Linked DNA regions of Homo sapiens: all the other regions are linked to region 3. The links are contacts of gene promoters, found by promoter capture Hi-C in blood cells and fetal thymus (Javierre and others, 2016). All regions are on one chromosome and are shown on one strand. The core of a region is centred on a gene start or on the middle of the fragment in contact, and the rest is flanking DNA. Distances in the headings are between cores, read along the strand shown.

The links. The method cuts DNA at HindIII sites, captures the fragments that hold promoters and counts their contacts. A CHiCAGO score of 5 or more calls a contact.
Region 1: a fragment that was not itself captured here is called in contact with the fragment with the promoter of ARX in region 3 in 1 of 17 cell types (monocytes); the score reaches 5.5 in monocytes.
Region 2: a contact is called between a fragment that was not itself captured here and the fragment with the promoter of ARX in region 3, in 1 of 17 cell types (fetal thymus). The highest score is 6.9, in fetal thymus.

What each region holds. Positions count from the first base shown.
Region 1 is chrX:24,394,949-24,399,151 of GRCh38, reverse strand. No RefSeq gene overlaps it. Among named protein-coding and RNA genes, the nearest start is that of SUPT20HL1, 36 kb to the right of the region's middle. The HindIII fragment of the contact is 362 bases long and covers 2,488-2,849 here.
Region 2 is chrX:24,367,713-24,371,970 of GRCh38, reverse strand. SUPT20HL1 (SUPT20H like 1) reads right to left here. Exons shown (of 1, transcript NM_001136234.3): 1 at 4,132-4,258. Among named protein-coding and RNA genes, the nearest start is that of SUPT20HL1, 9.2 kb to the right of the region's middle. RefSeq lists an enhancer at 1-465. The HindIII fragment of the contact is 233 bases long and covers 1,539-1,771 here.
Region 3 is chrX:25,013,529-25,017,794 of GRCh38, reverse strand. It overlaps ARX (aristaless related homeobox), which reads left to right and starts at 1,830. Exons shown (of 5, transcript NM_139058.3): 1 at 1,830-2,253; 2 at 3,997-4,266. The coding sequence starts at 2,058. The HindIII fragment of the contact is 5,488 bases long and covers 1-2,751 here.

The sequences.
Region 1 (4,203 bases), core at 1,419-3,918, 620 kb after region 3:
TCGCTTTTTTTTTTTTAACTAAACAGTAGGACAGCTGTTTCTACAAAGCCCATAATTCAAATGTTGTGACTGGGATGCTTCTAAAGTTTCCCTTTTCAGTGGGTAACACCTGATAAACCAATTCCCTCCTGGGTATTCATGTGTAACTAGAAGCCTCAATGATGTAGACACAGCTGTGGTAGTCATAGAAAGGATTGGCTATGGGGTTCAGACCAGCGGTATGCTATAACAGACTTGCACCAACTTGCAAGAGCTGATTGTTAAATCATCAGGAATTTTGCAAGCCAGTTGTTAAACACAGTCATTATTAAAAATTAAATTACATAAACATACACTAGACCTCACCCTGCAGCTCAACTCTGCCCTCAGTTCCCAGGGCCCATCCTGCAAGATGTCTATAGTAGCAGGTCACCTGACTGTGGCTGTGTCCCAGTTATGATTCCTGAACTTTTCCTTTACGCCCTGGCACTGCCTGGTCATAGCTCCTCCCCCAAACCCAAGCCCAGCTCCTGTTATACGGAGTCTTCTTTGGTCCTGTTGTCTTTCTGTTCAGGGAATCTCATTTGGGCTGTAACTCAGAGCTCCTTGTAGGCTTGACTCTTGCTTTACTCTTGAAAATCACTCTCCCAGATTCTAATATCTTTTGCCAAACCCTAGCCAAGTGACCAGCACTTTCAGCCTCTCAAAAGAGCTGTATGTTGACTGCCTGCCCTGACCCAAACACTAATCATAACTCCTAACCCTAATCCCTATCCTCTAGCCCTAGACCAAACTTGAAATCCTAATGCTAACCCTAATCTAAACTCCTAAAAATCACCCTAAATCCTAGCCCTAATGGTTGCTCAAACCCTTAACCCTAACCCAAACACCAAACTCCACCACAACACTAACCCCACATTCTATCACATAACTCCAATCCCTACTACCTAACCCTAACCCCCCAAACCCAACCCTAACATGTAACTCCAATGCCTAACCTTAATCCCCAACCCTAACCCTAACTCCTAACCCTAACCTCACCCCTAACCCCCAATCTCTTTCTCCAGGATCCTCTGCCCGCCTTCCCACTGCTACAACCACTTCTCCATGCTCCCTTACTGGGTCAGCTGCTTTTCTAGAGAAGGACTCTATTTCCCCAAGCCCTTTAGGCCAGTCTAGGCCAACCAGCTGGAAACTCTTTGGTCAACACTTGGAGGCTTCTCTGAGTGCCTGAACCATATTTGGGTCTAACTTTCCAATCCCAGCATCTCCCCGCCAGCCCAATCCTGCTCTCAAAAATCATTTCTCTCCCAGCCCAATCCCGAGACAGATGACAAGCATCAGTTACATGGGAAATTAATTTAGGCGAAAAAACTCTTCCTTCCGAATGTAAATTAGGCAGCTTGGACTCTGGAGCCAGCCTGCTCAGCCACTTAACTCCTTGCGTAACCTTGGGCAAGTTACCTTTCCTCCATATGTTCCTCTATAAAATGGGTGTAATAATAGCACCTCTCTCATAGGGTGGTTGTGAGGACTAAAATGAGTTGATATATAAAAGCACTTAGAACAGTACCTGGCACCATAGTAACCACTAAGGAAATGTTTGCTTTTGTAACATTATTATGACTATTACCCAAAAAAAGTGTACATTTTCCTTTTCAGACTCAACTTGCTTTTATGAAGAGGGCAAAAAAAAAAAAAAAACAACAACAAACTAAACATGCTTATTTTAGAAATACAACAAAGAACAGAAAAGTATTAAAAAGAAGGAAAAAAAATAACCCACATCCAGCCAGCTACTTAGATTTCAAGGACAAAAGATAATTTGACTTTGCGAACGTCTGCATATTAGTAGATTTTGAGTTGCTGCAGCCAGACCCAGCCAAGCAGAGCTGTACTTTTATTTTATTTTGCTCTTGGCACTCAACTATAATTCCAGGCATAACATGGGGTCTCTGTATGTTTGTCTTTCCCATTAGGTTGGAAGCTCCCAGAGGAGAGAAACAGTGTCGTTTTAATCCCTGCATTGCCAGTAATGCCCAGCACAGAGCCAGGCCAGGAAAGATGCTCTCTAAATGACTATGTGCCTTGTTCCCCACAGTTGTAACTAGTTTGGAATTCAGTTTCACAGCTCTTTGCTCAGAAATACAGGTTTCTAGCAGAACTATCCTTGAAATAAAATGTAAGAAAAGAATTTCCCAGTGGAATTTGTTGGGGTTTTGTATTACCTCTTCTCACAAATCTTTCAAAAGACTGCTTTCCTCCATTGGGTAATTTCAAACATTTTTACCACTGGGTAACATAGCTCATTAAAGCAGTAATTTTCCACTTGCAGGTACAAAAATGAAAAGAAGACTGGCCAAAACCATTCGCCAAAGAAACATGGCATCTGTTCAGAGCTTATTATTTTTACTAGCTGCCTGCCAAAGACCACAAACCAACGGAGGGCTCTTACTCAACACAGACAACTGTATTCTAATCGACATTGTTCCCTCTCTTAAGTAAGCTTACCAAGTGATAGCAAGTGCCACTCAAGCAGTAAAATGAGAAATGGAAACATGAGGCTTAATGTAGCATGAACATGGGGTTTTTTTAATTGCTTTTTTAAGAAAAATTTGGAGGGAGCAAAAGGATTGAACAGACATGTCAATTTCAGTGAGTAATCCCGCTTTCCATCCTAGCCCACTCTGCCCTCACCTTTCGCTTTGATCTTCTCTCCAGTTGGCCTGATATTCATGGCAGAAAAAGCTGGTCTAACCACACTTTCCTCTTTCCATAAAGGCATTTTATGATGTTTCCATGCAAACCCAATATTCTTACTGACAGTGAAGTAGGGGACAGAGGCAATAAAAAAAGTGGATGTGAAAGCTTACAATACAAAAGAAGAAAGGCTCTTCTCCCAAGTTATGAACAGCTTCTAAATCACATAGAGCATCAGCATCGGCAGAAAATAGATGTGTATGAAAGATATGCTTATGTGTTACATAAATCTATGTGTCTGCCTGCAAAAACTGATAATTAAGAAGCAGAAGAAAGTAATCAAGACTTGACTCTGTATCCCAAAACTCAGGAAAGTGCCAGGGTTGTTTTGTCATTGGTGTTTTTCCTCCCCAGTAATAGATTCTCTTCCCTCTTCCACAAGCATTTTGTAAGGCTATGTTTAGAATAGACGTCAGAGCTGGGAAACCAACCTGCAAAGCAAGACTTTCCCAAGGGTGTCATCTTGTGGTGCTTCTGTGTATTACAACATTTCTTCGACCTGATGCAGACCACAGCTGGAAACAAGAGGCAAATAACTGTGAATCAGTCCTTTGATTTACAAAGTTGAATCAGTCCTTCGATTTACAAAGTTGAACCTTTGCGACTTGGCATTAGATAGTGTGTGGTGGGTGTCAAACACACAGGTGCTGAGAGATGGTTTAAAATTTTTAAGTGCTGCCATAATGTGGAAGTCATACATCAGGAGACAGAATGTTTGGTCGGCCTGAACATTCAGCTAGTTTCATAAAATAGCACACTCAGCACCCCCCTTTTTTTGTATCAAGCCATAAAAATGTTTACAGGCCGGGCACAGTGGCTCACACTTGTAATCCCAGCATTTCGGGAGGCCGAGGTGGGCAGATCACCTGCAGTCAGGAATTCGAGACCAGCCTGACCAACATGGAGAAACCCCCGTCCCTACTAAAAATACAAAATTAGCCGGGCGTGGTGGCGCATGCCTGTAATCCCAGCTACTCGGGAGGCTGAGGCAGGAGAATTGCTTGAACCTGGGAGGCAGAGGTTGCGGTGAGCCGAGATCGCGCCATTGCACTCCTGCCTGGGCAACAAGAGTGAAACTCTGTCTCAAAAAAAAAAAAAAAAAAAAAAAGGTTTACAAAGGGTCACTGAGGAAAGATTCATGAAAATACAACTTCTATAGAAAGGACTTAGAATCGCTGCATTTTAGAGATAGAAGAATCCCTTTAGAGGTGGGCTTAAGCTGGGGACCATAGTCCTGCTTTAGGAAAAATGAACTCCTTGAAATTGAACATAAAGAGTAGTGTTGGCACATACCGGCATTTTAATACATAGAGAATCTATCATTTTTATCAGATTATCAAAAGAGTCCGTGGCCTAAAGAAGATTAAGAACTAATGCTTGGGGCCAGGCGTGGTGGCTCATGCCCATAATCCCAGCACTTTGGAAGGCCAAGGTGGGCAGATCACTTAAGGCCAGGAGTTCGAG
Region 2 (4,258 bases), core at 406-2,905, 650 kb after region 3:
TGACCGTTCCCTTCAACCACTCTTTTCCAGCCTCTGTAGCTACGGGAGGATGGGAAGGGGAGGGAGAGAAGTTGAGTGTTCCTGGGGTGGAGGGGGGAGCTTTTCTTTTCTTGGGACAGAGTAGGAAGGGGTGAGGAAAGGAGTGCTGGGACTCCCCTGCTCTCCCAAGCCAAGAGTTGTATGTAGAAGGGAGACCTCTAAGAGGGTCGCTCCTGGAGAGTCGGAGGTCTGCATGAAGGCAAAGTTGGCATCCAGTTTTACTGCCTGGGCTCGTGTGGAGCTGCACAGACCCGCAGGCCCACACTGGACCACCCTGGAGCCTTGGAAACTGTGGGCGAGCTTGACGCATATTCTTTGAGGGATGTGTTGTATGTGAACCTGGAGTCTGGTGCCCCCTTGTGGTCTAGAGACATCTGAACGTGAGCGGTTCAAAAGGTACTGAGGGGCGGTGTGCCCGGAAAGCAAATGGGAGCATCACTTCCACCTTGATCCCGTGAGCCCACAGCTTCTGAATTTGGAAAGGCTCCACAGGAAGGAGCACAGCAGGGCTTACTAAGAGAGCCGCTCTTCAAGAGGCCCCAGAGGAGTCAGAATCCAAGTGAAGTTCAACACCGTCGCCGCAGAAAAAAGAACCAGCCCCGTGCTCAGAGACCCTTCACCTCACTCAGCAAATCAGAGCATCACACCTGCAAAAGGACCATTTTCGCAGGAAGATTTCTCTCTCCCTTCTCTCGTCCTCCCCCACCCACCAGACCAGAGAATACGATATTGAAATTGTAATTGGGACTGTCAGCTTTACCAAACAAGAGAGCCCAGCAAGTCATGAGGTCCACCCAAGGTGTCATTAAAGGATGGGAAAAGGGACTTGGTGCTGCATGGTTGAAAGCAGTGGTTGGGAAAAATAAAATGGTTTCACCTGTATAGTCCACCACTGAGTTGAGACTCATCAATGCATCAGTTACATGTACCCAGGCACAAGGCATAGACTTCAGAAGCAGACAGAAAGGGAGCTGAAAAATTGTGCCACTTAATAGCTTTATTGCCTCAGGCAAGGACTATCTGAGCCTGTTTCTTCACTTGCAAGTAAGGATAATCATACCTAATGGACATTATGACTAGGTTATTAAAAGGATTAGAGGCAGCATATATAAATGAATAGAAGCTACTATTTATTGATGGATGTGTTGACACATGGAGGGGGCTGTTTCCAGTTTCCCAAGACAAAAGACAAATAAAAAGAACTAGTAAAGTAGAAATAAAAAATAAGAAGTGAGGAATGCTGAAGTGCCAACCATAAATGTAAACGCAGCGATTTGAGCTACAAATTTGGTTTTGAGTTTCCCGGCAGCTGAGGCACAAAGAGAAACCTCAGAACTTGCACAACTACAGTTATCAGAAAGGAGGAAGGATGCCTTCTCAGGAGAGACAAAGCTTTTCCTGGCTCCAAATTTCAAAAGCAACATCTCAGAAGTTTTTCTGCATTGGCTTGTAAATTACCTGAAACCTTGACTAATCTTTACCAAGGGGTTTCTAAAGCTTTAGAACTAGTGATGTAGTAATTGGGACTGGGACAAATTATTGAAGGTGAATGACCTAGATCTCTACACTCTGGATCACAGTGGTATTCTGCAGCAATTACTCTCCTATAATTCTTTAAATTCTCTCAGTTGAACTTTCCCTGCTACATTCATTGTGAGATCACCCAAAGGACAATTAGACTCACCCCTTCTACCTCAAAGAAATGTTTTTATTTCCAACTCATGCAGAAGCTTCAGACTGAGGACAGATTTAAATAAAAGTATAGATATATTTTTAGATGAAATAGCTACATTCAAAAGGCTTTTCTCTTTCCCAGATGTAATTCTGGCCTACAAAAGCCACACTGCTCTCCCTTCAAAGGCCACAGTCACCTTTCAGGGGTATTAGCACATGAAGTAAACAGCCTTTGCAAAACAGTGCTACAGGTGAGCTTTCCCACCCCAACTGCAGAGGCACCTCCACTAATCTGCAAATGCTAACGTGGGTTTCCAGGGAAGTTGCCAAAATAAGCTCCTGTCCTCCCTCACCTTTACTTTAATCCCCAAATAGGTTTTGCTTTTACCATATGGTAATTATTTCCAAATCATAAGTGCAAACACTCACTCTGATTGGAAAATTAGCAGATTTCAAACTCAGGTAATTTGTCCCTAATGAGGAACTTGTTGAACTGAATTTAACAATTAACTCGCACACCCTTTGCTGCCTGCTATGGGAGTAAAGCAGGGAAGACAGAAGGGCAAGTCGAGGGCTGGGGCCTGGACTTCGAGTACAAGATAAAGGTTGGGATGGGGGGAAGGTGTGTTAATGGGGCTGTAGGAATATCAGGAACTTGACTATTCAAATGGATATAATATCTATGAATTCATATATAAATGAATTTCAAACATATGCCGAAGTAGAATAGTATAATGAGTCTCCATATACCCATCAACCAGCAGCTCCCACAATTATCAACTCATGGCTGATCAGGTTTCACTTCTGCAGGAGGAGCTAGAGACCCAGAAGATGCACAGGAAGGAGGTGCAAAAGGAAGAATAAAAGAGTGGTGCCGGCCAGGCACGGTGGCTCACGCCTGTAATCCCAGCACTTTGGGAGGCCTAGGTGGGTGGATCACCTGAGGTCAGGAGTTCGAGACCAGCCTGGCCAACATGGTGAAACCCCCATCTCTACTAAAAATACAAAAATTAACTGGGCGTGGTGGCGGGCACCTGTAATCCCAGCTACTTGGGAGACTGAGGCAGGAGAATCACTTGAACCCGGGAGGCAGAGGTTGCAGTGAGCCGAGATCACGCCACTGCTCTCCTGGGCAACAGAGGAAGATTCCACCTCAAAAAAAAAAGAAAAAAAAGTGCAGTGCCTCTCCTCTCTCCCACTCCCTTAGGTTCCAAGCACTTTAGGGTAGATACGGGTTGTTGAGTTGACTGCTGGGAAAATGAGTGTCCTCCTGGTAGGTCTTTTGCATATGGCTGTACAGAGCCTGGCAAAAGACTGACCTTTTCCACCCTCCTCGCTCCATGGCTGGGGCGACTTGATCCTGCAGGTCCTGGCCCAGATGACCATAGGCCATGAGGATCTCAAGAAGCTCCAGCCCACTACATGCAATCAGCATCATAAATCTCACTCCACCTGTGTGCCCCAAACCCAGGTCATGCCTGATGCTCTGTCCCCATAATCTGCTTTGCTCCTGTCCCTCTAGAACTGCGCTGACCCACACAATAGCCACTAGCCATACATGGCTATTAAGCACTTGAAATGTGACAAGCAAGACTGAGGAACTAATTTTAAATTTCATGTACTTTTAATTAATTTAAATTTTAAAACTTGTACTTGATTCAATTATGGGAAAACTTCCAAGTATGTTTGGAAAGTGAATCTACATTTTCAACTATAAGGTTTACAAAATCTAAATACAGATCAAATATTTGATGAAAATTTGGTATATGAATTGAGAGTCTCTGCAGTCGGAAGCCTCATGTAAAATGCCTCATTGAGAATTTTAAAATATTGATAACATAGGAATGATATTTGGGATATATTTGGTTAAACAGAAATTATTATTAAAATGAATGTCTCGTTTCTTTCTACTTTAAAAAAATGTGACTACTAGAAAATTTAAAATTATATATGGGTCTCATATTATACTTCTATTGGATAGCCCTGTTCTAGGGCTAGAGTCCTCTCTTCACTTGCAATTATTCTCAAGGAATATAATCCTGTTCCCAAATTCCCACCCTGTGACAAAGGCTCAATTCCACCTGACATGTCCTGTTGTGCTGGGCCTACCTGGATTTTCCTGGATGCTCATCTGCAAGCCTACCTTCTCTGCAAACTGTCAGAACATTCTAGGGACAACTGCTTTCACACAACCACTTCACCATCAACGTTCTGCTGTTAAGCCCTGAACATGCAACCTGCAGAGAACTAATTTTGAATTTGTCCTGGGATAGCATCCAGGTTCTCATGATACTAAAATAAATAAAAAGTTTACTCACAAAATGTAGCCAGCTAATGTCTTCAAAAGGTACCCTGTATCAAAGTACCAAGTAGGTGGGGATAATTAGAAGGAAATCAACAAAGTTTGCCAAACAGTCATCTGAAACAAAGCTGAATTTATTTGCCTGCCTGGGAGGAAAGAGCCACATCACTCAAGCACAAGTTTGGCTGGTAGCTCCATGTAGTACTTGAAAGGACCAGATAGACAACAAAGGAAGGAAGTAGA
Region 3 (4,266 bases), core at 581-3,080:
GGGCTTTCGGGGCCGGGGGAGGGAATGTGGGAGGAAATCAGCGCGCAGAATGTTAGTTTAAAGCTGAACCGGACGGTGTAAAAACACCGAACTCTTGGTGGGGATGGAAAAGGAAGAATGCGGGAAAGGCAAGGAGAGATCCCAGGTGACTTTGAATCGCAGAGAGGGCTTAAAGGAAAATCAAATGTCAGCGATGGCTCGGGTTCTCCTCCGCTCCCCACCACAGCCCGCCCTATCATCCAAGTGCAGAAAAAAACGGATGAGAATTAAGCTAAAAGCCAGAGAGAGAGAGAGAGAGGGACAGAGGAATTCTTTTTGTCCTGTCTTTAATAGTAGTAGTAGTATCAGTATTAGTATTCGCATTATTAATGTGCCTGTTCCCAACCCTTCATCCCCTCCCCCCAGTTTTGTCTTGAAGTTTCCTGCGGAGGCAGCCCGATCTGTCTGCTACCCACCCACCAGCATCCAAGAGTTATGCAGATGTTTATGGCTGAAAAAAAAAAATCCCAGTTATGCATCCTTGTATTTTTAAATACTGACTGTAAGTGATTCAAGTATAATCCTTTGTAAAATGCTTTTCTCTTTGACACATTGAAGGGAGTTGAGAGAGGAAAACCCGGCGTGGATTCCCCCTCCCTGGCCCCTCTCTCACCCACCACCTTCGCCCCAATTCTGCCAGCGTTGGGGCCCCTGGAAATCCCTGGGAACCTGCACCCAGGCAGGGAAGGCGTCCGTGCTGGCCCAGGCTCGACCCAACATCAGTTGGAGTTGGGTTTTAGTTCTCGGCGCTGGAAACTGTTTGGGAAGAAAGGCGCTCTCTCTAAGGTTCACTCTCTCACCTTTGCTCAAGGGAGCCAGGTCATGAGAATTCAGAATTTTAGACGCTTAGATTTGGCTGCAGCCGAATTTGGGTTCCTTCCACCCTGGAGAGGTCAGGGATCCCTGAGGGTTCTGCTCCCTAGCTGCGATTGGAAGGTGAACAGCCTCAGGGTGAAGGCCTAACAGATACGAATTTGTGGGGGAAAGAGGGAAGAGAGTCCAGGGAGAAAGAGGAGGCCCCCAGACTCGTCCCCAGTCGCCCCTCCTCGCTGCTGATACTCGCCTGTCCCTTCCCACCCAGTAAATGCTCTAGGGAAGGCCGCGCGCCTATGGCAGAGCTTTGTCTGTAAGGAGGCTTTTTCCCATTCCAGAGTTTAAAACGGAGAGGAGAGCGGTTGGGGGACGCTACAAACAAGAGAGACACAGTCGGGCTCAGGGTGAAGATAGACAGCGCAATGCCTTGGGCCGCAAGAGAAAAGCGAACTCCCAGACGGCAGATGTTTGCTTGGGGCGGTCACCCTGGCCCCCCGACGCCCGTCCGGCCTAGAGAGGACGGCAATTGAGCGCCAGGGAGGTCAAGGCGGTGTCCTGGGAGCCCAATATCGGCTTTGAAAAGTGCCGAGTGAGTCTGAACGTGAGCCTCGAGGCCTCGCCTCCAGGGAGCGAGGTCCTCGGGTTGGTGGAAGGGGCGCACGCCACCCAGATGGCATTCACAGGCCTGGCATCCCAATAAGCTAGAACTTCGGCCAACACTAAAGGGTCAAAGGAGGAGCTGCAGGAAGAGGATAGCGGACTTAGAAAATTGGTAACTTAAAAAAAGAAAGAAAGAAAAGGAAAATTGGCTCTGGTGCGTGCCCGCTGCCCCCACCCCCGCCTGCCCCTCTGGAATCCAGTCCGGGCTTTGCGCCGCGCCCACAGGCCGACGCAGCCCGGCCTCTGGCGAGAGCCAATCAGAGGGCGCCTCTCAGCACGTGGAGGAGAGAGACTCCAGAGCTCAGCGCCCGCTGCTCACTACACTTGTTACCGCTTGTCCTGAGCGCGGAGAGGGCGAGCTCGGGCCGCGGGCAGGGCGGGAGCCGGCAGCCGGCAACCAAGGGAGGCAGAAAGGCACAAAGATCGCAATAATATCCGTTATAACCCGCTATCTAACCCCACCCCCAACACACACCCATCCATCCCACCCTCCGGGAGAGGCAGCCGGCGATCCGCTCTCTGCGCCCTGGGAAAAAGCCCCAGCCATGAGCAATCAGTACCAGGAGGAGGGCTGCTCCGAGAGGCCCGAGTGCAAAAGTAAATCTCCAACTTTGCTCTCCTCCTACTGCATCGACAGCATCCTGGGCCGGAGGAGCCCGTGCAAAATGCGGTTGCTGGGAGCCGCGCAGAGCTTGCCTGCTCCGCTGACCAGCCGCGCCGACCCGGAAAAGGCCGTGCAAGGTAAGGATGCTCCCGTCAGGCACTTACTAAGGGCATTGGGCCCTGATTTGGATGTTTGGTGTTCGGGGGCCAGTGGCCTGGAATTGTCAATTTGGAGAGGAAGGAAGGAGAGGGCATAACTCTGAGGCCTGCTGCCTCAAAGAGCGTTAAACATCTAGCCAGGGCTGTCTCTCCCTCCCTCCCTCCCTGCTTCCAGAAAAAGGCCCGTTTTCGCTTAGGGAGCCTTTAGCTTTTCGGTGTTGATCGTTAGGTTGTTTAAATGCCCCTTTTGGTGGCCTTGGGTGTGCTCTGAAGAGCGGCGACAGGTCAGAAACAGTAGATGGCCGGTGGACCCTTGTAGCACCAACTTGATGAAGACAAGAAGCCCAAAAGCTGGTGAATCGGGGTCTCCAGGCTGAGTGAGCCTTGGCCTTTCCTCTTTGGAAGATTTCTGTATATGCAATGTTTTGGTTTTATTTTTTTAATTGCAGATTACTTGTGACCTTTTAAACCCAAGCTTTGCAGAAAACATCTTCCTGGGATTCTCCAAATGCTCCTTAATGTATTTAAAATGTATGAAATGTGTGACTTCTGGATGCTAATTTTTTCTCTGCTATTTTATTTTTTAAAATAGACGAGCTGTTTAAAATATTTTATTTTTTTCTGAAATTAAAAATTCCAGAACAAATGTCCTTTTACCCCGAACCTGTTATCCTCAAGTTTCGCCTCGAGCTTGCTGCAGAGGTGTCGCAGGGAAAGGAAAGAACTGTTGGTTTCTTTTAAAATCCAAAAACCAGCGGTCCGGCCATAGCGCAATTTGGATGGCAGGAGCAGACGGTTGAGAAGGGGGCATTTAAATAAAACTGACTTTTTTCTTTTCTTTTTTTAGCCTGCAGTGGCACCTATGCCAGGCGCTTCCTCAAAAGGAAGGAGCGGCCTGCGCCTGCTGCACTCCCACTCCCTCTCTGCCCCAGACCTTTCCCAGAACATTTTTGCCAGGATGATTTTTCTTTGCCTTTTTGTGCAAGAAGCCCCCCCACCCTCTCCCGCTGTGGGCTGTTGGGGCGCGGCCTGCACTTGGGGCCACAGGGCCGCTTTCCCCCACCCCGCCCCGCAGCGGTCGCCTTCAGGGCTGCACCCCTCTTGCCAACCCTTGCCCTCATGGTGGAGCAGCGGGCAGAGGTCATGCGCAAAGTTTTCAGGATAGTGGTGATTTTCTTTTAAAGTTGTAGAATGTTTTCGGATTTTCCTCTGCCCCGACGTGGGAAGGGAAATAAAAATGAGAGAGTAGGAAAGGGGAAAGAGAAAGGAATAAAGAAGAAAGAAGGAGAGAGGGGAGAGAAAGCCTGCAAAAAGAGAAAGAAAGGGGGAGAGAAGGAGAAAGAGAGGTGAGGAAAAGAAGGGAGGGGGAGAAAGAAAAAGAAAAAAGGTAAGGAGAGAAAAGGAAGGGAGAGAGGGGCAAGAGGAATAGATAAGGGAAGGAAGATAGGAAATAAAAGGGGGAGAGTGAGAGAGGGAACGGAAAGAAGGGAGAGGAAAGGGGAAAAAAGAAGGAACCCAGAGAAAGGGAGAAGGAGAGAAAGAAAGAAAAAGAAAAAGCAAGAAAAGTGGAGAAAGAGGCCAAGGCGTCGAAGTCTGGTGGTGCGCGGTCCCCGCACGCCTGGGCCTAGGCACTGGGGGAGCAACTGCGGGCGGGCCCCGGCAGCAGCCCTGGCTGGGACTCCCCGGCCGGCCGGCTGGCTGATAGCTCTCCCTTGCCCGCAGGCTCCCCTAAGAGCAGCAGCGCCCCGTTCGAGGCCGAGCTGCACCTGCCGCCCAAGCTGCGGCGCCTGTACGGCCCGGGCGGGGGCCGCCTCCTTCAGGGTGCGGCAGCGGCGGCGGCGGCGGCGGCGGCGGCGGCGGCAGCGGCCGCCACGGCCACGGCGGGTCCACGCGGGGAGGCCCCTCCGCCGCCACCGCCAACCGCGCGGCCCGGGGAACGGCCGGACGGCGCAGGGGCCGCCGCGGCAGCCGCGGCCGCGGCCGCCGCGGCCT